4 separate regions of the Homo sapiens genome follow, and regions 1, 2 and 3 are each linked to region 4. Evidence: promoter capture Hi-C in 16 types of primary human blood cells and fetal thymus (Javierre and others, 2016). All regions are on one chromosome and are shown on one strand. The core of a region is centred on a gene start or on the middle of the fragment in contact, and the rest is flanking DNA. Distances in the headings are between cores, read along the strand shown.

Region 1 (6,720 bases), core at 4,088-6,587, 270 kb after region 4:
ATAAACAGTGCTGGGGAAATTGAGTAACCATATGCGGCCAAATGAAACTAGACCCCTATCTCTCACCATACACAAAAATCAAATCAAAATAGATTAAAGACTTAAGTCTAAGACCTGAAACTATTAAACTACCAAAAGAAAAAATTGGGGAAATGCTCCAGGGCATTGGCCTAGCAAAGATTTTTGTGTAAGACCTCAAAAGCAAAGGCAACCAAAGCAAAAATAGACAATGGGATTACATTGAGCTAAAAAGCTTCTGCACAGCAAAGGAAACAAATAACAAAGTGAAGAGACAACCCACAGAATGGGGGGAAATATTTGGAAACTGTCCATATGGCAAGGGATTAAAAACCAGACTATATAAGCAGCTCAAACAACTCAATAGGAAAACACACATACATACACACAAATAATCCAATTAAAAAAGGGCAAAAGATCTGAATAGACAGTTCTCAACAGAAGACATACAAATGGCAAATAGGTATATGAAGAAATGCTCAACATCCCTAATCATCAGAGAAATGCAAATCCACCACAATGAAATATAATCCATTTCAAAAAAAAAAAAAAAAAAAAAAAAACAGGCAATACTGGATGCTGGTGAGGATTTGGAGAAAGGGGAACTCTCATACACAGGGATGGGAAATGTAAATTAGTATAGTCACTATGAAAAATAGTATGGAGGTTCCTCAAAAAACTAAAAATAGAACTACCATATGATCCAGCCATTCCACTCCTGGTTATATATCCAAAAGAAAGGAAATCAATACATTGAAGGAATATCTGCACTCCCATGTTTTATTGCAGCACTATTCAAAACAGCCAAAACATGAAATCAACCTAAGTACTTATCAACGAATTAGTGGATAAAGAAAATGTGGTATACATGTGTTCTCACTTATAAGTGGGAGCTGAATGATGAGAACACATGGACACATGAGGGGGAACAACACACACTGGGGCCTGTTGGAGGATGGGTCTGGGAGGAGGGAGAGCATCAGGAAGAAGAGCTAATGGATTCCGTGCTTTATACCTGGGTGATGCGATGATCAGTGCAGCAAACCACCATGACACGCATTTACCTATGTAACAAACCTGCACATCCTTCACATATACCCCTGAACTTAAAATAAAAGTTGGAAATCAAAAAATAAAATGTGATATATATACACAATGAAATATTATGTAACCATAAAAAAGAATTAAATCCTGTCATTTGCAGCACCATGGGTGGAATTGATGGTCATTATGTTAAATGAAACAAGCTAAATACAGAAAGACAAATATCACATGTTCTCATTCAAATGTGGAATCTAAGTGAATCTCATGAAGATAGTGAGTAGACTGGTGGTTACCAGAGGTTAAGAAGGATAGGGGGAGGGAAGGATAAAGAGAAGTTGATTAATGAGTACAAACATATGGTTTGACAATTAACAAAGTAAAGAGACAACCCACAGAATGGGAGAAAATATTTGCAAACTGCCCATCTGACAAGAGATCAATAACCAAAATATATAAGAAGCTCAAACAATTCTACAGAAAAAAATGGAATAATCTGATTTTAAAATGGGCAAAGGATTTCAATAGACATTTCTCAAAAGAAGATATACAAATGACAAACAGGCATATGAAAAGGTGCTCAACATCACTGATCATCAGAGAAAGGCAAATCAAAACTACAGTAAGATATCTCACTCCAGTTAAAATGGCTTATAATCAAAAGATAAGCAATACCAAATACTGGCGAGGATGTGGAGAAAAGGGAACCCTCATACACTGTTGGTGAGAATGTAAATTAGTACAACCATTATGGAGAACAGTAGAGCTACCATATGATACAGCAAGCCCACTGCTGGGAATACACCCAAAAGAAAAGAAATCAGTACATCAAAAGTATATCAAAGGGATATCTGCACTCCCATGTTTATTGCAGCACTGTTCACAATAGCCAAGATTTGGAAGCAACCTAAGCGTCTATCGACAGATGAATGAATTTTAAAAATTGTACCTATACACAATGGGTACTAATCAGTTGTAAAAAAAAAAAAATAAGATCCTGTCATTTGCAACAACATGGATGGAACTGGAGGTCATTACGTTAAGTGAAATAAGCCAGGCGCAGAGAGACAAACTTAGCATGTTCTCACTTATTTGTGAGATCTAAAAATCAAAACAATTAAACTCATGGAGCTAGAGAGTAGAAGAATGGTTACTAGAGGCTGAGAAGGGTAGTCGGGAGCAGTGGGGCAGGTAAGGATGGTTAATGGGTACAAAAAAAATAGGAAGAATGAATAAGACCTAGTATTTGATAGCACAACAGAGTGACTATAGTAAATAATAAATTGTACATTTAAAAATAACTGAAAAGAGTATAATTAGATTATTTGTAACACAAAGGTTAAATGCTTGAGGGATGGATATCCCATTTTTCCATGATGTGATTTTTTTTTTTTTTTTTGAGACTGAGTCTCGCTCTGTTGCCCAGGCTGGAGTGCAGGGGCGTGATCTCGGCTCACTGCAACCTCCACCTCCTGGGTTCAAGCGATTCTCCTGCCTCAGCCTCCTGAGTAGCTGGGACTACAGGCACCCGCCACCACGCCCAGCTAATTTTTTTGTATTTTTAGTAGAGACGGGGTTTTACCATATTGGCCAGGCCGGTCTCAAACTCCTGACCTTGTGATCCGCCTCCCTTGGCCTCCCAAAGTGCTGGGATTACAGGCGTAAGCCACAGCGCCTGGCCCCATGATGTGATTTTTACATATTGCACGCCTATATCAAAACATCTCATGTATCCCATAAATATATACACCTACTATGTACCCACAAAAATTAAAAATAAAAAAGTAAAAACAACAAATCTATGGTTTGGTAGAAGAAACAGAACCTAGTGTTAGATAGATGAGCAGGGTGACTATAATTTACAGTAATCTATGGTATATTTCAAAATAGCTAGAAGAAAAGACAAATATTTCAGGTGATAGATATCCCAAGTACACTGATTTGATTTTTTTTTTTTTTTTGAGACAGAGTCTTGCTCTGTTGCCCAGGCTGAAGTACAGTGGCACGATCTCAGCTCACTGAAACCTCCACCTCCCAGGTTCAAGCGATTCTCCTGCCTCAGCCTCCCTAGTAGCTGGGATTACAGAAGTGTGCCAACATGCCTAGCTAATTTTTGTATTTTTAGGAGAGACGGGGTTTCCCCATGTTGGCTAAGCTGGTCTCAACTTCCTGACCTCAGGTGATCTGCCTGCCTCAGCCTCCCAAAGTGCTGAGATTACAGGCATGAATGACCATGCCCATTTACAAATTATATAAATGTATTAAATTATCACAGGTACCCCAAAACTATGTATCTATTATGCATCGATAAAAAAATTGTTTAAAAAAGATATTATGAAGATCAAAGGAGATTACATGTATAATCTCCTATAATCTATATTTTGTGTACATTTTATAGCTATAGATTACGTATACAATTCTAAATTTTGGGCCAGGCGTGGTGGCTTACGCCTGTAATCCCAGCAATTTGGGAGGCCGAGGTGGGAGGATTACCTGAGGTCAGGAGTTCAAGACCAGCCTGGCCAACATGGTGAAACTCTGCCTCTACTAAAAATATAAAAAACTAGCCGGGCATGGTGGCACACGCCTGTAATCCCAGCTACTTGGGAGGCTGAGGCAGGAGAATTGCTTGAGCCCCAGAGACGGAGGTTGCAGTGAGCTGAGATCATGCCACTATACTCCAGCCTGGCCGATAGAGTGAGACTCTGACTCAAAAAAAAAAATTATAAATTTTATACATGTTTTATATACAGTCATACCTCAGTATGAATGGGGGTGGTTTCCAGGAACACCCCCATCAGAGGATGTCCAAGTCCTTAATGTAAAATGGCATGGTATTTGCATATAGCTTACACACACCCTCCTGTATATTTTAAATCATCTTGGCTGGGTGCGGTGGCTCACGCCTGTAATCCCAGCACTTTGGGAGGCCAAGGCTGGCAGATCACGAGGTCAGGAGATCGAGACCATCCTGGCTAACACAGTGCAACCCCGTCTCTACTAAAAATACAAAAAATTAGCCAGGCGTGGTGGCAGGCGCCTGTAGTCCCAGCTACTTGGGAGGCTGAGGCAGGAGAATGGCGTGAACCCAGGGGGAGAAGCTTGCAATGAGCTGAGATCGCGCCACTGCACTCCAGCCTGGGCGACACAGCAAGACCCCATCTCAAAAAATAAAAATAAAATAAAAATAAATAAAGAAATAAATCATCTCTAGATTACCCATAATAACCTAATACAATGTAAATGCTATGTAAATAATTGTTGTACTGTATTTGTATTTACTTTATTTTTTATTTTCATATTGCTATTTATTGTTTGTTTGTTTTGAGACATGGTCTCACTCTGTTACCCAGGCTGGAGTGCAGTAGCATGAACACTGCTACTGCTCATGCAGCCTCAACCTATTGGGCTCAAGTGATCCTCCCAACTCAACCTCCCGTATAGCTGGAACCACGGGCACATGCCACCATACCCAGCTAACGTTTTTATTTTTGGTGGAGACAGAGTCTCATTTTGTGGCCCAGGCTGGTCTCAAACTCTGGGCTCAAGCGATCCTCTCACCCCCACCTCCCAAAGTGCTGGGATTACTTGTGTGAGCCACTGCACCTGGCCCTATTGTCTTTTAAAATATTTTCGATCCATAGTTAGTTGAAACAGGTATATGAAAAAGTGCTCAACATCAGTAATCATCAGGGAAATGCAAAGCAAAACCACAATGAGGCATCACCTCACATCTCTTAGGACAATACTTTTAAGGATATATTTTCATGACATGACTTATGAAATCCTAGGGACCCAAATAAGCTGTCCTAATAAACTAACTTTGTGATTCCAGTCAATCAGTCCAACAAATGTTAAATTGTCTACTATGTACCAATCTAGGAACAGCAATTCCAACAGTAAAAACAACTTCAAGAGAACAGTGAGAACTCTCAACCTCTTCATATACTATTAAACTTAAGAAAAATAATAATTAAAGTACTTTATTACATTTTTATACAAGGCAGTTTAGCCAATGCTTCTACCCTCTTAGGGAAGTTCTGAGAAAGGTGACTCTGCCTCTGACTCTTACAATTCAAGAGAAAAGTAAGAAGATAATCTGATTGGTGAGCACTACCATTCACTGAACCACTACATGGGTTGTTTTGTTTTGGAGATGGAGTTTCGCTCTTGTTGCCCAGGCTGGAGTGCAATGGTGTGATCTCGGCTCACTGCAACCTCTGCCTCCCGGGTGCAAGCAATTATCCTGCCTCAGCCTCCCAAGTAGTTGGGATTACAGGCATGTACCACCAAGCCCAGCTCATTTTATATTTGTAGTAGAGATGGGGTTTCTCCATGTTGGTCAGGCTGGTCTCAAACTCCTGACCTCAGGTGATCTGCCTGCCTCGGCCTCCCAATACGTGGGTTCTTTAAAAGGCAGGGGTTCTATCCCTTTCCACTCTTCATTTTCCCGTTCTCTACCTGTGACTAGACAGGTAAATTCAATTCCAGAAGAGACAACTTTGAGACAACTTTGAGAGCCATTTGATGCCACTTAAATTTGGAACCCTATGTGGCACCTAGTTTGCAGTTGATTTGAGACAGAAAGAAAAGGTAGTGAGTAATTAACACCCCTTAACTTCCAATAATGACATAAGTGACCCCTGACCTTGGGGGTCACCCAACATCTACCTACATTCCAAATTATCTCTACCTAATTTTGCATGCTTGATTACTGTTCCTAATGTACTGCCAGAGTACTCTTAAAAGGATTGCTGGCCAGGCACGGTGGCTCACGCCTGTAATCCCAACACCTTGGGAGGCCAAGGTGGGTGGATTGCTTGAGGCCAGGAGTTCGAGACCAGCTTGGTCAACACGGTGAAACCCCATCTTTACTAAAAATACAAAAAAAAATCAGCTGGGCGTAGTGGTGCATGTCTGTGATCCCAGCTACTAGGGAGGCTGAGACACGAGAACTGCTTGAACCCGAGAGGCAGTGAGTCGAGATCACATTGCTGCAGCTGCACTCTAGCCTGGGTGACAGAACAAGACCCTGTCTCACAAAAAAAAAAAAAAAAATTGCTGGCCAGGCACGGTGACTCATACCTGTAATCCGAACACTTTGGGAGGCCAAGGTGGGAGGATTGCTTGAGTCTAGAAGTTCAAGACCAGCCTGGGCAATACAGTGAGACACTGTCTCTACAAAAAATAAAAAAATAGCTGGGCATGGTGGTGCATGCCTGCAGTCCCAGCTACTCAGGAGGCTGAGGTGGGAGGGTCCCTTGAGCCTGGGAGGTTGAAGCTGCAGTGAGCCATGATCTGCACCACTGCACTCCAGCCTGGGTGACAGAGCAAGATTATGTCTCAAAAAAAAAAAAAAAAGCCAAACTTCAGATGTGTCACTGATGGTCCTGACTCTAACCTGGGGGTTAATGAGCCTCAGGCAATGAAAAAAGTGGACCCTGAATTCAGAGGAAAAGCTTGAGGGTAGAGCACATTTGACAGTGAAGCAAAACTCAGGAGTTAAGCATCATGTTCAGAGTGGTATACCAGTACTCAGAAAAATAAAGTTCAAATTATAATCCCTTCACTGACACATTGATTCTCCATGTCTCAGGCTCTACATCTTTAAAACAGGCTGCACTTTGCTTTTCTCATTGAATTACTCTGTAATCCCACCAC
Region 2 (6,349 bases), core at 1,361-3,860, 290 kb after region 4:
CCAACCCATTACATTTTCTTTTAGGTAGATGGGGGAGCTGGGGGGCGGGGCGGGGGCAGTCAGGGAACAAACAGCTGCCCTTAGAAATGACACGCCCTGTGGGCAATGGCGGCGCTGGGACGTCTGCAGCCGCATTCACTGCCACAGAGAACGGCCAAAGTATGGCCAAATCCCAAATGCAAATTTTAAGTTTGGCCTCGGAAATTTCTGCCCTCCCTCATCTTGTGGCATATTTTGTTGTAAGGGGGAACTATTTGTTTGTTTGTTTGTTGTTTGTCTGAGACGGAGTCTCACTCTGTCGCCAGGCTGGAGTGCAATGGCGCGATCTACGCTCACTACAACCTTCGCCTCCCGAGTTCAAGAGATTCTCCTGCCTCAGCCACCTGAGTAGCTGGGACTACAGGCGCGCGCCACCACGCCCAGCTAATTTTTGTGTTTTTATTGGAGACAGGGTTTCACCATGTTGGCCAGGATGGTCTCGATCTCTTGACCTCGTGATCCGCCCGCCTTGGCCTCCCAAAGTGCTGGGATTACAGACATGAGCCACAAAGCCCAGCCTGTTTGTTTGTTTTTTAAACTTACTTATTTTTGAGACAGGTTCTCGCTCTGTCGCCCAGGCTGGAGTGCAGTAGCACCATCACGGCTCACTGTAGCCTCGAATTCCCAGGCTCAAGCGATCCTCCCACCTCAACCTCCTGAGTAGCTGGGAGTACAGACGTGAGCCAACGTGTCCAGGGGAATTATTTATGAAGCAGTCACTTACTGGATGCATAAACTCACTTAATCTGAACTCCTCCTTCAGAGATGTAGTAATATTCCGGTTTTATAGGTGAAAGAATGGAGACTCAGAGAGACGTTCAGTAACTTGCCCAAGTCACACAGACTGGTATGAGCAGAATTTGAATTGACTTCTGCCTGACTTCAAAGCTATTTATGCTCTTCTTTGCCACACCCCACAAGACTGCCCCATTTTTAGTTCCAAACCCATACTTGCTTTGAATTTTCCAAATCTTCAGGTGATCATGTGTGTATCAAAAAGACACAGAGCAATGACTTTAATGTTAATGCGAGGAATCCTTATTATTAGACATCAATTTTCACAAATTTTATCTAAACAACAGTAAGTAGAAATGGAATCATGAAATTCTTGTTTCTGATGATGCTATTTATTTCTGGCCATGAGCATTTATTAGGAGTTTATCACTCATCTACTAGCTGATTGGGGGTGAGTAAAAAATCATTTCCTGGGTTTCAAACTTACAGAATGATCATCTGAGAGCAGTGTCCAGGAATTTGCATTTCTAGCTGGCTCACCAAAGGATCTTTCACAAATTGAGTTAGATAACTTCACCTTTTAAACTTCGGTGACTCTGCTAAGCTTCCTGCGGGCAGGGACTTCCATCCCTCCCTCCTTACTGGACATGAAAATGCTTATTGAGGAAAGGCATAAAATGGGATATTCTGGCTGGGCACAGTGGCTCATGCCTATAATCCCAGCACTTTGGGAGGCTGACGTGGGCCGATCGTTAGGAGTTCGAGACCAGGCTGGTCAACATGGCAAAACCCCCGTCTCTACTAAAAATGTAAAGATTAGCCAAGCATGGTGGCACGCACCTGTAATCCCAGCTACTCGGGAGCCTGAGGCAGGAGAATCGCTTGAACCTTGAAGGTGGAGGTTGCTGTGAGCTGAGATCATACCACTGCACTCCAGCCTGAGTGACAGAGCAAGACTCCATCAGAAGAAAAAGAAGAAGAAGGAGGAGGAGGAGGACGAGGAGAGGGGGAGGGGGAGGGGGAGGAGAAAATGGGATATTCTGGGAAAACAACGAATTTAATTAAGCAGACATTTACCAAGAGTTTGGAGGTGCCAGGACCCAGGTAGCCCCTAAGGCATACAGGGCCTCATCTCTGCATCATCATAGACAAACCCAGTAATTAAGAGAACTCACTGGCTTTAGGTTAGTCATGGCTTCAGGTTGGCAGCACAAATGAAATAACCAAATTAAAAAAGAAAGTCAACTCTTAACTTGGTTTTGCTTTTTGTTATACATGGTACTTTTTTCTTTTTTTCTACTCCCTTTCTTCCTTCCTTCCTTTCTTTTTCATTTCTTTTTTCTTTCTTTCTTTCTTTCTGTGTGTGTGCGTGTGTGTGTGTGTCTGGATTAAAATTCTGTGGGCATCCATCCAGAAAAACCATGACAGGTTTCTGAGAGGACACAGTGGAGGACGGAAGCCCTGGGATGGAAATTTCAGAAAAGCAGCTGCTAGTCCCAGAAAAAAACTAAAGCTGTGTGCTCACTGGCAAAGAAAGAAGAGAACTCAGTCAATTATTTGGATAATCTGAGACAAGCCTGTACTGCACAACACACACAAGGACACAAGGCTGCACCAGGTGAAAGTGTTTTATTCTCTTGACTAAATTTGCCGCCCTCCCCAGTGCCCTTCCTGCCCCCACATCACTGTCTGCAGGTGCAGACAGACCCAGAATAGAACTGTAGCACTGGAAGGATTTTTAGAGATCATCTATTCCATAACCTTCATTTGACTTGACAGATGAGAAAAATGAGCCCAGAAAGACAAAGCAACTTGTTAAGGATTAGACAACTAGTTAGTGGGGGCCTCTGTGCTACATTCCTGGTCTCCTGACTCAAAGCTACATTCCCACCTCCACCCAGGCTTCTTGAAACCCGAACAAGATGCACTGTCTGGGGTTGGGTGAAATGATGCCATCAAAATGAGCTAAATCACAATCTGAGCTTTGGGGATGCTTTTCATATTCCCTGCCCCCGCCTACTTGCTTCCAGTCACAGAAAGCAGGATCCGAGGTGGCACAGAGTGCTTTCCTTTTCCATCTTCACTTTTTATTTCAGAAAGAAGTAGGAGGGGACAACTTGCAGGCAGAAAAAAAATCTGAGATTATCCTAGATTATGAGCGGTTTAGGGACAGCATAACTTAATGTCTGAGACACCATTTTAAGAAGGACTGCATCAGAAGAGATGATACAATCAGAAATTAAGTTTCTGTAACAATGAATCAGGGTACCTGATAACAATAATTAATTAAAGGGAAGAACACTTAGCATTTATACAGAGACTTTCATCTCTAATCAAAGTTGCCAGTGGTGATGAATTCAATCTCATTGAATTATCACTATTCCCATTTCACAGAAAATAGTCGGGATATTGGGGAAGCACTTGAAATAAGAACCAATGTTGACTATCCAAAGTGGAAAATGCAGCCATATATCCAGATATTTCTTACCAATTATAGCTAGAGTATTAGCCAATGTGTAGACAGCTAAATTCTGAATTATTCTGTCTACAAGTCAAGCAAAAAATCCCATTGGCCTCCATTTCTCAACTTAGCATTTTGTACCAAGAAACTATTTCATCGATTACATATACATTTTGTACTTGGAAACATCATACAATTTTAGAGTTAAAAGGAACCCCATTAATTCTATAGGCTCACTTATTCAACAAATCATACAAACATGGGTTTTGGAGTTAGTCAGGATTCCTGATTTATAGATCCATACCCCAGGTCCCTTACCTGTTAGGCATGTGGCTTTAGCAGGTCAGTTTCCTTCCCTGTGCCTCATTAGTCTATCTGCAGAATAAGGTTAGCTTTGATACTGTAGGGTTGTTATGTAACAAAAGTGCTTAAAACAGTGCTCGACACACAGTGAACACTGTCAATAAATATTTGCTATTAGAGTCTTTATTTGAGCATCTCTTATGGAGCCATAGAACCCGGGTGCATTGTGTTAAATAGAACCAGAGATACCAAGAAGGAACTAAGAGTCAACCAAGGTAACTGATTGGTCCAGGTACTCCATGGCAAAGCTTGATTGGCTTCATACTTATTCAATACTGTAAAACAGTAATGAACAGCTTGTGCTTATTAAGGACTTACTGACTAGCATTATCTCATTTACTTCTCATAACAGCACTTTGAGAAAAGAAGAATTATGTATACCCATTGTGTTGAATTAAAAATAGCTGTAAATCTTTTGCCATACTTCCCATCAAGAGGTAGAGTCTATTCCCTTTTGCTGAATTAGGTGGAGCTTTGTGACATGCTATAATCAATAAAATGAAGTGGAAGTTGTGCTTGTTCTGTCTGGGGCTAGGCTTTAAAGAGGTCTGGTAGTTTTTGTTCTTGCTCTCTCATAGAACCGAGCTGCTATGCTGTAAGGAAGGCAGTCTAGACTGTGAGAGGAAAAGAGGCTACATAAAAACTGAAGCACCCCGGCTGACAGCACCAACTTCCATTCATGTGAATGAGATCATCTTTGATGTTCCATTTCCAGCTGAATTCAGCCTTATGAGGGTTCGTGATAATACCATGTGAGGCACGGATGAACCACCCATGCTGAGCCCTGTCCAAATAGAATCTGGAGAAAACATAAGGTGGTTTTGTTTTAAGCTACTAAGCTTTGGGTAGGTTTGTTATACAGCAATAGGTAACTGAAACATCCATATTGTGAATGAGAAACTGAGGCTCAGAAAGGCTAAGCAACTTGTCCATGGTCAGGAGCTAGGAAGTGAGACAACCTAGATTCAAACCCAGGACCATCTGACACCAAAAGCCATGATCATAACCAGCGAACTACACAGTGCCTCCTATGGAATAACCAAATTCTGAAGAATAATTCACAAATTAAATTTTTGTTCTTTCCTTATTTCAGACATTACCTAATGTAGGCTGAACTAATAAAAATCATAACATGTCAGTCTTAAAACCATAAAGAATAAAAATGTTAGAGTTAGAAATGAAGGGTCGGGCATGGTGGCTCAAGCCTATAATCCCAGCACTTTGGGAGGCCAAGGTGGGAGGATCACCTGAGGTCAAGAGTTCGAGACCAGCCTGGCCAACATGCTGAAACCCCTGTCCCTACTAAAAATACAAAAAAAAAAAAAAAAAAATAGCTGGGCATGGTGGTTCATGCCTGTAATCCCAGCTACCTGGGAGATTGAGGCAGGAGAACCGCTTGAGCTGGGAGGCAGAGGTTGCAGTGAGCCAAGATCGAGCCATTACACTCCAGCCTGGGGAACACGAGCGAAACTTCATCTCAAAAAAAAGAGAAAGAGAAAGAGAGAGAGAGAAAGGAAGGAGGGAGGGAGGGAAGGGGAGAGAGAGAGAGGAAAGAAAGAAAGAAAGAAAGAAAGAAAGAAAGAAAGAAAGAAAGAAAGAAAGAAAGAAAGAAAGAAAGAAAGAGAAAGAAAGGAAGGAAGGAAGGAAGGAAGAAAGAGGCAAAAGTGATCTCTGCCAAGATCTCACCTCTTGAAATTGAAAGGAGGCATCTCACTGGAAGGTGGGTACAGACCTCTAAATTTTCTTTCTGTTTTTCAAAAACAAAGATGAAAATGAACACGTTCTGCTCTCACCTTTAGGAAACCAGAGATACATTAACACTTAGGGTGGTGAATGGAAATTGACAACAGGTGGTTGGTTGTCTCTTTGAAATTCTCCAGATGAAGCATTCTGGGAGAAAAAAAAAAAGGTTGATTTTATTACAACATTTTCTGGGTCACAAAGAATTTGAGGTTTTCTAGGAAACCTGACTTATAAATGTGTATCTTTCTAACAGGAGTACATTTGTGTTTCAAAGCGTCTTTAAACCCATCATTTTCTAAAATTTCTTACTGCATGAAAAGCTGCTGGAGCCATTTATTCAACAAGCAGGTAGTGACACCTACTCCATGCAAGTCTCTAAGAACTCCCTGTATCAAAATCATGAAGTATTTTTATTTCAGTGTGTAGGAATGCTTGCTCAGAAGTCACTTATTTTATAAACCTCACCCCATCCAGAAGAGAGCCCCAACTGGAAAAGGAAGAAGACAGTGCCACTGAGCAGTTAAAATCGGCATATCACAGAGTCTGTACATTTCAACTTGAGTTCTTTGCTCATAGGGGACCTTCTCAGTCCCTCATTCAAAGTCTATTCATGTTTATTTTTATTTTGTTTTTGAGACAGAGGTTTCGCTCTTGTTGCTTAGGCTGGAGTGCAGTGGCTCACTGAAACCTCTGCCTCTCGGGTTCAAGAGATTCTCCTGCCCCAGTTTCCCAAGTGGCTGGGATTGCAGGAACACACCACCACACCCAGCTAATTTTTTTTTTTTTTTTTTTTTTTGAGACAGAGTCTCACTCTGTCCCCAGGCTGGAGTGCAGTGGCATGATCTTGGCTCACTGCAACCTCCACTTCCTGTGTTCAAGTGATTCTCCTGCCTCAGCCTCCCAAGTAGCTGGGATTACAGGCACCTGCCACCACGTCCAGCTAATTTTTATGTTTTTAGTAGAGACCAGGTTTCACTTTGTTGGCCAGGCTGGTCTTGAACTCCCAAC
Region 3 (6,261 bases), core at 1,875-4,374, 490 kb after region 4:
CCTTAATTTTTGACCAGGTGATAAATAAAACAACATAAACAAGTTTATAGTGAATAGCTGGGCTATCACCTTGACCCCTGTCCATCATCATCAACCCAGTTCCTTCCCTGTATACCCCGTAAAAATTCTTATTGGTTTCTCACTTATCCTTTCAGAGATTTATTACACAGTTCCTTATTAAAATAAAGTTGGTTACAGGTACTTCACACATTCTAATGCTTTTCTTTTCATTTATCTCAACATGACCTAAAGAATGTCTGGCTATACTTTCTCAATGCCTTACATGCAGTCTTTGATTCCTGTAGCAAGGCTTTAAGTGAGCAGTACTGCAGGTAAAGCAAAAATGTGGTGAGCAAAGCTGACACCAAAGCTAGTGGTTAAATAGCTACAAGCTAACAGACATATAATCAATACCTAACCCCACCAGCAACATTAAAGCAAATGAACTAGTATTTTCTAAATACCTAGCATAGTACCTATTATATGTATTTTACTGTACACTGCAGTTCCTTTTACAAAATAGACAACATATTTAGTCTTTTTTTGATTTAAAAAAAAAGGGATTCTTTGTCTACCAGGCTTTCTAACATAATGATACACAATCCTGAGTCACCCTGGACTTAACCAAAAAAAAAAAAAAAAAAAAAAAAGGATTAAGTATATTATTAGTATACTCAAAACTAACCTAACCATTAGCAAGGACACAAATGTATTAGATATAAAATATAACCTGTGTGCTCAAGTACTTAATTGTATTATGGGTTGGAAATAAAAGTCATATGTACCAAGTAAGTGGTACAAACAAGTGTCAAAGAAATGTAGCCGGAGGATAGTATACTTGTACTTGGAATGATCAGGAGATACATTAAGAAGGTAGCTTTTGAACCAAACCAAGAAAGGTTGGCTTCATGGAGCAGAGAAGGGGGCCAAGAAAGCAGCAGCTAGTCAACACAATGGGCTTGGTGCTTTAAAATATTTAAGTAGGGAATGGCAAACTACAGCTTATGGTCTAAATTCAGTCCACTGCCTGTTTTGTATAACCTGTGGGCTATCAAGGGTTTCTATGTTTTTAAATGGTTGAAAAGTATCAAAAGAATATTTTATAACATATGAAAATTACAAAATTCATATACAAAGTTTTACTGGCACACAGCCACATTCATTCAGTTACACATTATCTGTGACTGCTTCTGTACTGCAAGGCAGAGTTGTATAGTTGCAACAGAGAGCATGTGAATCACAGCCTAAAATGTACTATCTGGCCCCTTAGAGAAACAGTCTGCCAACACCTTGCCTTGGGAAGGCCTATGTAGCTGAAGCACTATGAATGAGGGGCTGGGCGGAGGATGGTGAGACTGAAGCTGGAGAGCTAAGAGGAACCTGTGTGTCATGGTGAGGATTTGGGTCCACATCCTAAGAGTAATGGGGAAGCTGTTAAAGAGTTTTAACTAGGAGACTGACAATTAGATTTGCATTTTGAAAAGATCATGTTGGTTGTTATATTGGGGACCAGAGGACTAGGAGATATGAAGGCTAGTATAGTAAGTAGCTCAAGCAAGATATGAATATAGCTTAAACTTTGGTGCTGGCAAAGTAAAACAAGGAGGCTAGGCAAGATTATTTCTGAGATCGCTTCCAGTTCTAAAACGCTAAAAATCCACAGTGGTTCAAAGTCTAGTTTTGCAACTTTCCTGAGTGTTTCCAATTATCACAAACAATTCTCAAAACCGTTTTGATAGGTGACAAAGATTCTTTGCCAGGCCAAACTTTACTGAGGTTTCTGAATCTTCTGCTAGGCCCATCTGTCCAGTTTCAGCAAAGAACTCTGCGAAGTCAGTTTAGCAAGAAACCCCTATCCTTGATATCTGATCGTCCTTTACCATCCTCCATGATGTCTGATCACCCTGGACTGTTTTTAGCAAGAATCCTGTTAGGTCGGTTTAGCCAAAATCCCCTTTACCCTTGATGTTTCCTCTTAGTAAGTTTCCATCCACTGATCCCACATTGCTTCTTGGCTATAAATTTCCACCTGCCCATGCTGTATTCAGAGTTGAGCCCAATCTCTCACCCACTTCAAGACCTCACTGCAGTGGCTGCTATACTTATCATGATGGTCCTGAATAAAGACTTCCTTACTCTGCTTTAATAAGTATCATTGAGTAATTTTCTCTTTAACATAGGAACAGCTCCCCAGTAGGTAGAATAAGTTAAAAATAAGCCAACAGAGCACTATGCATCTAAATAGTGTCAGAATGACTACAGAGTAAATGCCTCTCCCTCCATTAAAACACTTTCTAAAATATGATTTATATTTGTTAAAGTTAGAAAGGACTACTTTTATGATATTAAATTTACAATTAAAGAATTTACAGGTAAATAATATAATTTAAATGAACACACAACACAAATACTGCTTAGGAATATTTTCACTGCACTGTTCTTCCCGTAACTTAGTAATGACAAAACAAAGAACATACCTGCTACATTCTAACAACGTAACTTTAAGACGGCCTTCAGTAAGTGCCCATTGTTGTATATGGATATGCTCTTCATCTTCTTCAAATCCTTGCAAGGTCTGGTATGGAAAAAACGGCTTAAACCTGACAAAAGTAAAGATAAGTCTAAATGTCTGAATAATAAACACCACAGTTTAAAGCATAACAAAACTCACCTGTACAAAAACACAAAGCAAAATGAACACCTAATACTACACGTGCTCTACAAAACCAAAGCTTACCACACTCCCCCATAACTGGCAGCAAATGGTGCCTTCGCTATGGCACCCATAAGTCTTGGTTTTTTGGTATGCCCCCATTGATAAGGCAAGAGAGAACAAAGAAAAGAAAAGCCTAGAGGCAGCAAGTAGGCCATGAAGTTTAGGTGGGGCAGGAGAGAGACTGTGAACCAGATGGGAAGAGTGTTCCTACGGTACAAGATCAAAATTCAGAATGCATGTTCCATGGAAATAATATACAGTCCCCTTGGCATCCATGGGGGATTGGTTCCAGTACTTCCCAAGGATACCAAAATCCCAGGATGCTCAAGTCTCTAATATAAAATGGCCCAGTATCTGCATTATACACATTCTCCCATATGTTTTGAATCATCTCCAGATTACTTATAATACCTAATACAATGTAAATGCTATGTAAATAGTTGTTAAGACTATATTGTTCAGAGAATAATGACAAGGAAAAAAGTCTGTACATGTTCAGCGCAGATTAAATTTTTAAAAAATATTTTCAATCCACAGTTGTTTGAATCCATGGATGTGGAACCCATGGATGTGGAGCCCACGAATACAGAGAGCTGACTATTACAGACAGTGATTAGTACATGATAAAGATGACTGTAATAGCAACATCAATAACAATTAACACAGCAGAGATATTCATTAGAGATGTTTACTATTTGCCAGGCAGTATGCTAAGTGCTTTTTACATGCATTATCTTATTTAATGCTCACAACCCTGAAGAGGGCAATATTATTGGCTCCTCTCTCCAGATGAAAAGAATGAAGCTTAGGAAGGTTAACAAGTTTGTTCAATTTTACAAAGTGAATGGCAAAACCAGAATTCAAGCTAGTCTAATTCCAAAGTCCAACTATATAACACCTCAGTTACCTATGAATTATCCAGGCATTCATATGCTCATCACTAATATTGTTGTTTTTATGGAGAAGTTTGTGCTGAGTTATAAACTGTAGGTTTTAAAAAACTTTTAATTTAAAACACAACTCATACTCCTCCATTAAAGCTAAAGAAAAAGAAAATGAAAGAAAATTGGGCTTAAAGCCCCGTGGTTTTCAATTCACCCTACACATTGTCACTAGCCATGATATCTACTTGCTCAGAAAGTTTTAGTGGCTTCTTACTGACCACACAAACAGATACACACACACACACACACACACACACACACACACATAGTCAAAAGTTCTTGGTTTCACATTTAAGGTCCACCACAATTAATGTTCCTTTTTTATTTTTTCTTGAGACACAGTCTTGCTCTGTTGCCCAAGCTGGAGTGCAGTGGCACGATCTTGGCTCACTGCAACCTCTGCCTCCTTGATTCAAGCTATTCTCTTGCCTCAGCCTCCCAAGTGGCTGGGATTACAGGCATGCACCACTATACCTGGATGATTTTTGTATTTTTAGCAGAGATGGGGTTTTGCCACGCTGGCCAGATCAGTCTTGAACTCCTGACCTCAAGTGATCTGCCTGCCTCGGCCTCCCACATGGCCTCCCAAAGTGCTGGGATTACAGGCCTGAGCCACCACACCCAGCCCACAATTAATCTTTCTAATCATATATTCTCTTAATATAAACATTCCAATCTAGAAAGTCACCTCATATGCCCAGAAGACACTATGAATATTCCTGCCTTCAGGCCTTTCATACCAACTGGAAGTTTTCCCAGATTCCTCAAAGCCTGTCCAAATCCTCCCCTCTTTCGCACTCGGCCATACATGCTGCTTTCACTCTTCTCTATCTTGCAGTCCTCTAAATTGCGTGCATTTATGCCTTAAAATGTCAAATATGACTTAGTCTCACAATTCTCTGCATCCATCATCCATACCTGACGGGATGTTTCACACACTATCAGGATTTGAGTATGTGTTGCGCTGATTTACAAAGAGTTAACACTAAAACTGAAATAAACACTTAGAAAATATCAATGGCCTACTATAGTTTATACTGAAAGACACTAATAGAGGGGGTTAAATGCTGTTTTATGTTTTCCCAGTAAGTAAGATTAAAGAAAAAAATTTTAAGGAAATGTTAAGTAGGGACACAGGCGATGCTCAGTGGTTTTCTCCTGTTTCTAAACTAGTATGGAAAGCAGAAAGCCCCCCGAGTTTCTCCCAACTAAAACGCTAATTTGCATTTGAAGTCATTTGATTCAGACAGACTGGCACCAAATTTTTAGAGGGAAAAAAACTAGTAACTAAATTTATATCAATATAATGTTGTAGCTGGGTGCTTTTAACACACAGTCCTTATGACTCCTGAAAAACATATAACTGTTAGTTTGTAAAAAAATTATAATAACCATATACACTAGAAACTTTGAATTTAATAATCCAAGTTAGCTAAATCACAACTGCTCTAAGAACCAGCTTTCCTTGTCAAATATAAAGTCAAAATTCAATAAAATTTCTCACAGGAGTATGAGTTGAATGTTATATGGATTAAAGTCTAATTTGGATTTACTAATGCTCAGGGGGTTTTGCTAAGAGTGTTTATGCACAAAAATAATCTAAAATCAGAACAACGTATTCCATTTTAAATGAATATACTAAACGGTGGGATAAAGCATGAACATGTTCGGCAAGCCAATAAATAGAATCCACACATTAACATTCTCTAAGAACCTTTGGTTTTCAGAATTTTTAAGTCCAAGTCTTTAAGTATCCCAAACCCATAAAGAATCCAAACAATGAAGCGGGCTACCTCTATCACTTTCTTTTATCTTCCTATTCCATCATATCATCTTTCTTCAAAATCCATTAGTCTTTATTTCCTAATTAACCTATTAACTCAAAAATGTCAGTTTTCTCACTCAGGCTTCCCCGCAAAATAGTCTTAACAAACTACCTGTACTTCCTCCTGTAGAAAACTTAAAAACCCAAACTAGGAAGATCGACTTTAAGGATGACAGTATGAAGAGCCCTGCTGATCTGCTCCCCAGTGAAATTCGTGAAAATTATTTTAAACCAAAACATTTACAGCCTCTGGAAATGATCTTAAGAGCAAACAGCAAATTTTAAAAATCTACTTAAGAAAATCGATGACAATTTGATAAGAAAGCCAAGTCTGTGGTGTTTGAACCCTGTTTCCCCAACAAGCTCAGGGTGGCAGATTCCACAGTAGACTTCTTTACTTTTTATTTTTTATTTTTTTGAGACGGAGTCTCAATTTGTCGCCCAGGCTGGAGTGCAGTGGCACAATCTCGGCTCACTGCAAGCTCTACCGCCTGGGTTCACGCCATTCTCCTGCCTCAGCCTCCCGAGTAGCTGGGACTACAGGCGCCCACCACCACACCCGGCTATTTTTTTGTATTTTTAGTAGAGATGGGGTTTCACCGTGTTAGCCAGGATGGTCTCTATCTCCTGACCTCGTGATCTGCCCACCTCGGCCTCCCAAAGTGCTGGGATTACAGGCGTGAGCCACCACGCCCGGCCACTCCATGCTAGACTTCTATTGCCAGGAACACAGGGCTCCCTCATCCCACAGCTCTCATTTGGTGGGCTTTCTCCCT
Region 4 (6,178 bases), core at 1-2,500:
TGATGGTCCATTACACACAGACAGTGAGACGTTCCGTAAGAGAGCAGAGAGAACACGGAGGAAGTTTGGAAGGTGCATGTCTGGGTTTGTGTAACAGTACTTATAGCATCACATTTTTATGCATCTGCACCCATACGTGCATGTATTGAAAATAACTGTGTTTCAAAGTGCTTTCTCACTCACTTCCTCATTTTGTACTAAGTGACTCGGGAAACAGGCAGAGGAGGTAAGATGATGTTTTCCAGAGGGGGGAAAGTGTGGCACAGATCTTGTAACTGATCTGCTTAGGTAGGAAACATAAACAGGCGTGAGTGGAACAAGAACACCCTGTCCGTCGCCGCCCACTCCTGCAGCAGAGGAAGTATCTAGAACTGAGGACGCACACTAAGTTCTGTAATCGCATGATACCTGGCAGGTACAATGAAGCCAGGAAGGCACTTCGGATTGAAAAGGGCAAGGACATAGGCAGCATTCTGGAGAGGGAACGTGAGCCAAGGCCATTCCCCCATTTCCGTTTTACCTCCCCAAGTCCTGCCTGAATCATCCCCCATCCTTAGGTCTGCCCAAACCACAACCATCCCTTAGGGTTCACCCCAGATATTTTCAACCCACACTGGTTTTTTTCATTCCATTGATTTCACCCCCACTAATATCCCAGAGAAGGGCAAGTGGCCGTTTCTCTCCTGGACATCATAGCAGGCCCAGCCAGCACACGGCTCGGCTCAGAGCAGGTAGTTAATAAACATGAGCCGAATGAAAGAATTCCTGAGATCGCCACCGCTCAGTAAGGATGCCCTGAGCCCCTACATCCCTCCCCCAACAGAGTGGGCCTGCCTGGCACGGGCGGCCTTAGCAACCCGGAGGAGCTCACTAACAGCAGAGAGCAAGGGGGCGCGTGGGGAGGGCGGGGTGGCCCAAGACGCTGGGCCACTGGGACCCGAGCGCGCGACCCCAGCCGGAATTCGGAGCTAAGGCTGCCGCGCTCCGGCAAAACGCGCTTGATGAGGTCGTTAAAGATTTCCCCCTCTGGAAAATCGCCAGGGAAAAGTGGTGAAAAACGAAGCCGGGAGGGCCCTAGTCTCGGGAGTCTAGGAGGAGCCCAACCCCCGGACCTAATGCCGCAGGGAGAAAAGACAGAGCAGCGAGCGCAAATACCATCCTAGCTCCAATAAAAGGGAACGACTTTTACCGCAGGAAGAACCTAGGCCTGGAAGCCACGCGAGATCTGGGGGTCGGGATCACGTTGCGTTGCCTAGCGACAGCAGGGACGCTCGTGGGACCCCAGGCTAAACCCCGCTGTAGCCTTAAATCTCCTACCATGGAGGAAGAAGGCGGCGGCCGCAGCTGTGGGACCACTAGGGAGCTGCAGAAGCTGAAGCAGCAGGCGATGGAGTACTACCGGGAGAACGACGTTCCGCGCAGGCTGGAAGAGCTGCTCAACTCCACCTTCTACCTCCAGCCTGCCGACGTCTACGGGCACCTGGTAGGGACCTGGGACAAGCGCTCTCCTCCCGCCAACCCCTCTCCCCCCGCCCCGCGCTGCGGCAACGCCTTGCGCCTGCGCCTGCGCCTCAGAATCTCGCATGCCAGCCGCCCGGGCCCTGGGCCTGCGTGTGCGGAGGAGACTTCTGGAGGGAAGGAGCGGGAAGGACACCCAGGGGTGAAGGGATCTCCCCAGAGAAAGTGGCAGAAAGGAGGCAGCTGGAGGAAAGAGGGCGCTAGGCGTATTTGACCTGCAGCGGCAGCCCAGGGGCTGGCAGGCTTCCTCGCTGCCTAAGAGGCCTCTCCGTTTGTGGGCCGGCCCACCGCCCATGCTTGCCAATTGTCATTTTTAACACATACCTTAATGCCCTCAGCTCAGCTCACCGACCTTAAGCAGCTCCTCTTTGATCACAGGATGAACACCTTGGCGTTTGCTACAACTTGGCTTCAGCCTATTCTGGGGCCTCATCCTACTGGCTCCTCTGCCGGGATGCCAGTTAATATCTGACCAGCCCCGCCCTAAACTCCAAAATTCAGACCAAAGCCTTGCCCACGTAGCCCTGGACCAACCGTCCTTCTGGGTTCCTACAGCATTTCCTTCGTGTATTGTAGTCTCTTGAGGCAGCCTCCCTAGGCAGCCTGTGAGCCCCTGCTGGGCTCAGAAGCCTTGTCTTCTCACCTTCCGGGTCTCTGCCCAGCCCTGAGATCTGGCACATACCTTAGCGTTAAGCAGTGAGCAGCTGAAGCAAAGACGTTTTCTCCCTTCCAGATCTATAAGTAGTAAGGAAGGCAGTGTGGCTGGGGCCCCTAGGAGTTTGCACTATGGCAAGGCAAAGCAAGGAGGCAATGTGAACACCAAGCAGAAGGAGTCCTATGAAGAGGCAGATGTGCTGTCAGGGTGCAAAACCACGTCGTATTGAGGCAGTTGATATAAAGGATGTTCCGCGAATGACTTTTTCCCACTCATGGCCTATACTATCAAAGGGGAGAGGTGTGGGGTTTACTGAGCCCCTTGTGCTGCGTACTGTAACTCAATCCTCAGTACCACTGCGACGAGGTAAAAATGATGATTCCCATTTTACAAATAAAGAACCTGTGGCCAGTGCAATTTAAATGATTTTCCCAAAGGACATAGTGACAGAAGAAAAAAAATCAAACCACATTTGTGTCCCTAGTACCCAGCAGAGTGCATGGCACACAGTGGATGCTGAGAAACTACCTGCAGGATGAATGAGTGAATGCTTGACTCTCATTCCATTCTCTTCCTACTATCTGTTGCTAGAGGAATTCTTGAACACAATCTATTCTAACGTCCTCATTTTACAGGGACACCAAGTCTTTGTCTCACAGCTACTTAGTGTACAAGCTAGGACTAAAAACATGGACTCTTGTTCCCCAGTATAATGATCTTCTTATTCTATTAGGCAGCCAGGATATTCGTTTGTACAGCTCTCTGGGAACTTACATCTTAGTTTGGGACAAAAGTCACTAATACATAAAATAATTGGAGCAAAAGATAAGGTGATAGATGACTGTGTGCTAGATTGAGGGGCAGATCCCTATATGCCTATTAAAGGAATTCAGGGATGGAAAAGATCCTTGGAGGCTGTATATCCAGGAAGGCTTTGGCTTGGACTTCGAAGGATGTTCAGGAATTGCAGAGGCAAAAAAGCAAACTCCTTGAACCTGGGAATCGGAGGTTGCAGTGAGCCGAGATTGCACCACTGCACTCCAGCCTCGGCAACAGAGCGAGACTCCGTCTCAAAAAGAAAAACAGAAAAAAGCAATCTCCTTTTCCTTTTCTTAGTAACTGCCCTAGTTTTGGCCGTGCTTACTCTCACCTCGTCTCTCCCTCTATCTAGTTCATCCTGCAGAATGCTGCCAGAGCAGTGTCCTAACATGCAAGTCTGACCACACTTCTCTTCCTCAGAACCTCCTGTGGCTTTCCCGTGCTTGCTGGCCTTCATGTGTGTGGTTCACAGTGCTCAGCCCCTCCCTCTGGTAACAGGCGCATCTCCCACTCCCTGCCCTCCTCCTCTACACCGAATCACTGACTGTTCCCCAAAGCCAGAAGTTTCCTACCTCCCTCCTCTTTGCTTGTCCCATTCTCTCTCCCTGAAATATCTGCTCACCACATCTCCCCCTTGACTGGCACTGAAACACTATACCTCCTCCAGTGTTCAGCTCCAATGTCATTTCTTCTGTCCCTCTCCAACATTGATATGGCTTGGCTCTATCCCCTCCCAAACCTCATCTTGAATTGTACTGCTCATAATCCCCACATATGACATGTGGGGAGGGACCGGGTGGGAGGTAATTAAATTATGGGGGTGGTTACTCTCATGCTGTTCTCGTGATAGTGACTTCTCATGAGAGCTGATGGTTTTATAAGGGGCTTCCCCGCTTCACTTTGCACTTCTCCTTCCCGCCCTCATGTGAAGAAGGATGTGTTTGCTTCTCCCTCCACCATGATTGTAAGTTTCCTGAGGCCTCTGCAGCTGTGCAGAACTGTGAGTCAATTAAACCTCTTTCCTTTATAAATTACCCAGTCTCAGGCAGTCCTTGATAGCAGTGTGAGAACAAACTAAGACAGACATATTAGAGGAATTCACACATGGTAAAGATCCTTGTAGGCAATAACAATACAATTTATTCCATCATCATAAAACTGAATGAGAGAGTTTTGGACTGGGAATGTGGCAGATCTGGTTTTGATTCTTATCTCTGCCACTTCCTCACTGTGATAGAGTTACACTGATGGTCCTCCAAGAAACTACACTTCCAGTGTGAACACCTTTTTGTAAGTCCCTCCCACACTGACTCTGGAATTGGCTATGTCACTTACTTTGATCAATAGGACCTTGACAAACACGATACAAACAGAGAGTTGATCAGTGCTGGCATATGGAAGCTTGTCCTCTTGGAATCTAGTCATCATGCTGTGAGGATGTCCCAATTACCCTACTGGAAAGAGTGAGGTTGTGTAGAGAAAGACCTTGGCAGATACGAGACCCCTCAGGATATCCTGTGAGAAAGATAGATGCCCAGCCAACCCCTCACTGTGCCAGCCATCCCAGCTACGGCACTGGACATTGAGTGAAAACAGCTTGGATATGCTGGCTCCTGTCAAGCCTCCAGATGATTACATCTGCATAAGGGACTCCAGAGAAGCCCAGCAAAAGAATTTCCCAGTTGAAGCCCCACCCAGATTACAGGACCATGAGCAAGTTAATGGTTTAAACCACCAAGGTTTGGGGTGGTCTGTTACAAAGCAGTAGATAATGGCCGGGCGCGGTGGCTCACGCCTGTAATCCCAGCACTTTGGGAGGCTGAGGCGGGCGGATCACAAGGTCAGGAGATCGAGACCATCCTGGCTAACACGGTGAAACCCTGTCTCTACTAAAAATACAAAAAATTAGCTGGGAGTGGTGTCGGGCGACTGTAGTCCCAGCTACTCGTGAGGCTGAGGCAGGAGAATGGCGTGAACCCGGGAGGCGGAGCTTGCAGCGAGCCAAGATTGTGCCACTGCACTCCAGCCTGGGTGACAGAGTGAGACTCCGTCTCAAAAAAAAAAAAAAAAAAAACCAAAGCAGTAGATAATGAAAACATTAGCTAAGTGATCTTGGACAGTTAATTTTTGTGGAACTGTCTGCCCATCTGTGGGATGGAGATGATATCACATAGCTTAGAGAGTTGAATGTAATGACATAATGTATATACAGTGCCCAGGGATGTCACTGACATTTATTAATTTATACGAGATTTAATTTATAGAATCCTATATATGTCAGGCCCTGTGGTTTGAGATATAGTGATAAAGAAGTCATTCTTTCACAGCCCATATTAAGCACTTCAAAAATGTTAGTTCCTTTCCTCTCCTAACACAACACGCGGCACATTATAGGTGCTTGGTGCTTGTTAAACTGAACTCACTATAACACACAGAGTGTAAGCTAAATAACATTTTTGCTCTCCTGATTCTAAATTCATTTAGGCACTTACTCTGTAACATACAAACCACCATTTAAAGAATCCACGGATAGCTTGAAAATGAGCTCTTGCTTAATACTTCTGGGGCCCCACCTCTGAACTGGCATGTCGCTGTGGGTATTAGATGACCTGTTGTCCAGGTTGAAGTCACTGGATTTTGAACTGAAAGATCAGAGACCTGGTGTCTGCTAAATGAAAGCAAAGCCCAGTCCTATCTGGTAATCAAGAGAGCAATAAAGGTGTGCCTTCACCTTCCCTCCTTCTAGTCTCTCCTAGCTCCTGCTCCTCTGCACAGAAACACCTTCCTGAGCGTTTTCTTGCAGGCTTCTCGAGTGGGCTTTCTATCTCAGCTTCTCTTTCTTCAGTCTCCTTCTTAGATCACTTCCAAATGGCTTCTGCTTTTCCACCTCAATGAAACTGCAATTACTAAGGCTCCCAACAAGCCTCCTTGAACACATAGGACTATGAATGAGCTGATGGTAAGATACAGCCGTCACGTAAGTCTTCACCACTAAAATATCACGTGCCTTGCTGGGAGGAATAAAAATGAGCCCATGTGCCGGGCGCGGTGGCTCACGGCTGTAATCCCAGCACTTTGGGAGGCTGAGGCAGGCGGATCACGAGGTCAGGAGTTTGAAACTAGCCTGGCCAACATGTTGAAACCCCATCTCTACTAAAAATACAAAAGAATTAGCCAGCCGTTTTG

What was found. Contacts are between HindIII fragments. The CHiCAGO score rates a contact against its expected background, and 5 or more counts as called.
Region 1: a contact is called between a fragment that was not itself captured here and the fragment with the promoter of ENO4 in region 4, in 1 of 17 cell types (endothelial precursors). The highest score is 6.4, in endothelial precursors.
Region 2: a contact is called between a fragment that was not itself captured here and the fragment with the promoter of ENO4 in region 4, in 6 of 17 cell types (endothelial precursors, monocytes, M2 macrophages and 3 more). The highest score is 10.2, in endothelial precursors.
Region 3: a fragment that was not itself captured here is called in contact with the fragment with the promoter of ENO4 in region 4 in 1 of 17 cell types (M2 macrophages); the score reaches 5.6 in M2 macrophages.

The regions. Positions count from the first base shown.
Region 1 is chr10:117,117,808-117,124,527 of GRCh38, forward strand. It overlaps a transcript of SHTN1 not described here. Among named protein-coding and RNA genes, the nearest start is that of VAX1, 17 kb to the right of the region's middle. The HindIII fragment of the contact is 2,358 bases long and covers 4,159-6,516 here.
Region 2 is chr10:117,140,861-117,147,209 of GRCh38, forward strand. No RefSeq gene overlaps it. Among named protein-coding and RNA genes, the nearest start is that of VAX1, 5.8 kb to the left of the region's middle. RefSeq lists an enhancer at 1-165. The HindIII fragment of the contact is 2,468 bases long and covers 1,377-3,844 here.
Region 3 is chr10:117,338,503-117,344,763 of GRCh38, forward strand. PDZD8 (PDZ domain containing 8) reads right to left here. Exons shown (of 5, transcript NM_173791.5): 2 at 2,478-2,600. Among named protein-coding and RNA genes, the nearest start is that of PDZD8, 34 kb to the right of the region's middle. The HindIII fragment of the contact is 788 bases long and covers 2,731-3,518 here.
Region 4 is chr10:116,848,249-116,854,426 of GRCh38, forward strand. It overlaps ENO4 (enolase 4), which reads left to right and starts at 1,251. Exons shown (of 14, transcript NM_001242699.2): 1 at 1,251-1,483. The coding sequence starts at 1,319. It also overlaps a transcript of HSPA12A not described here. RefSeq lists an enhancer at 1-67. The HindIII fragment of the contact is 7,314 bases long and covers 1-4,391 here.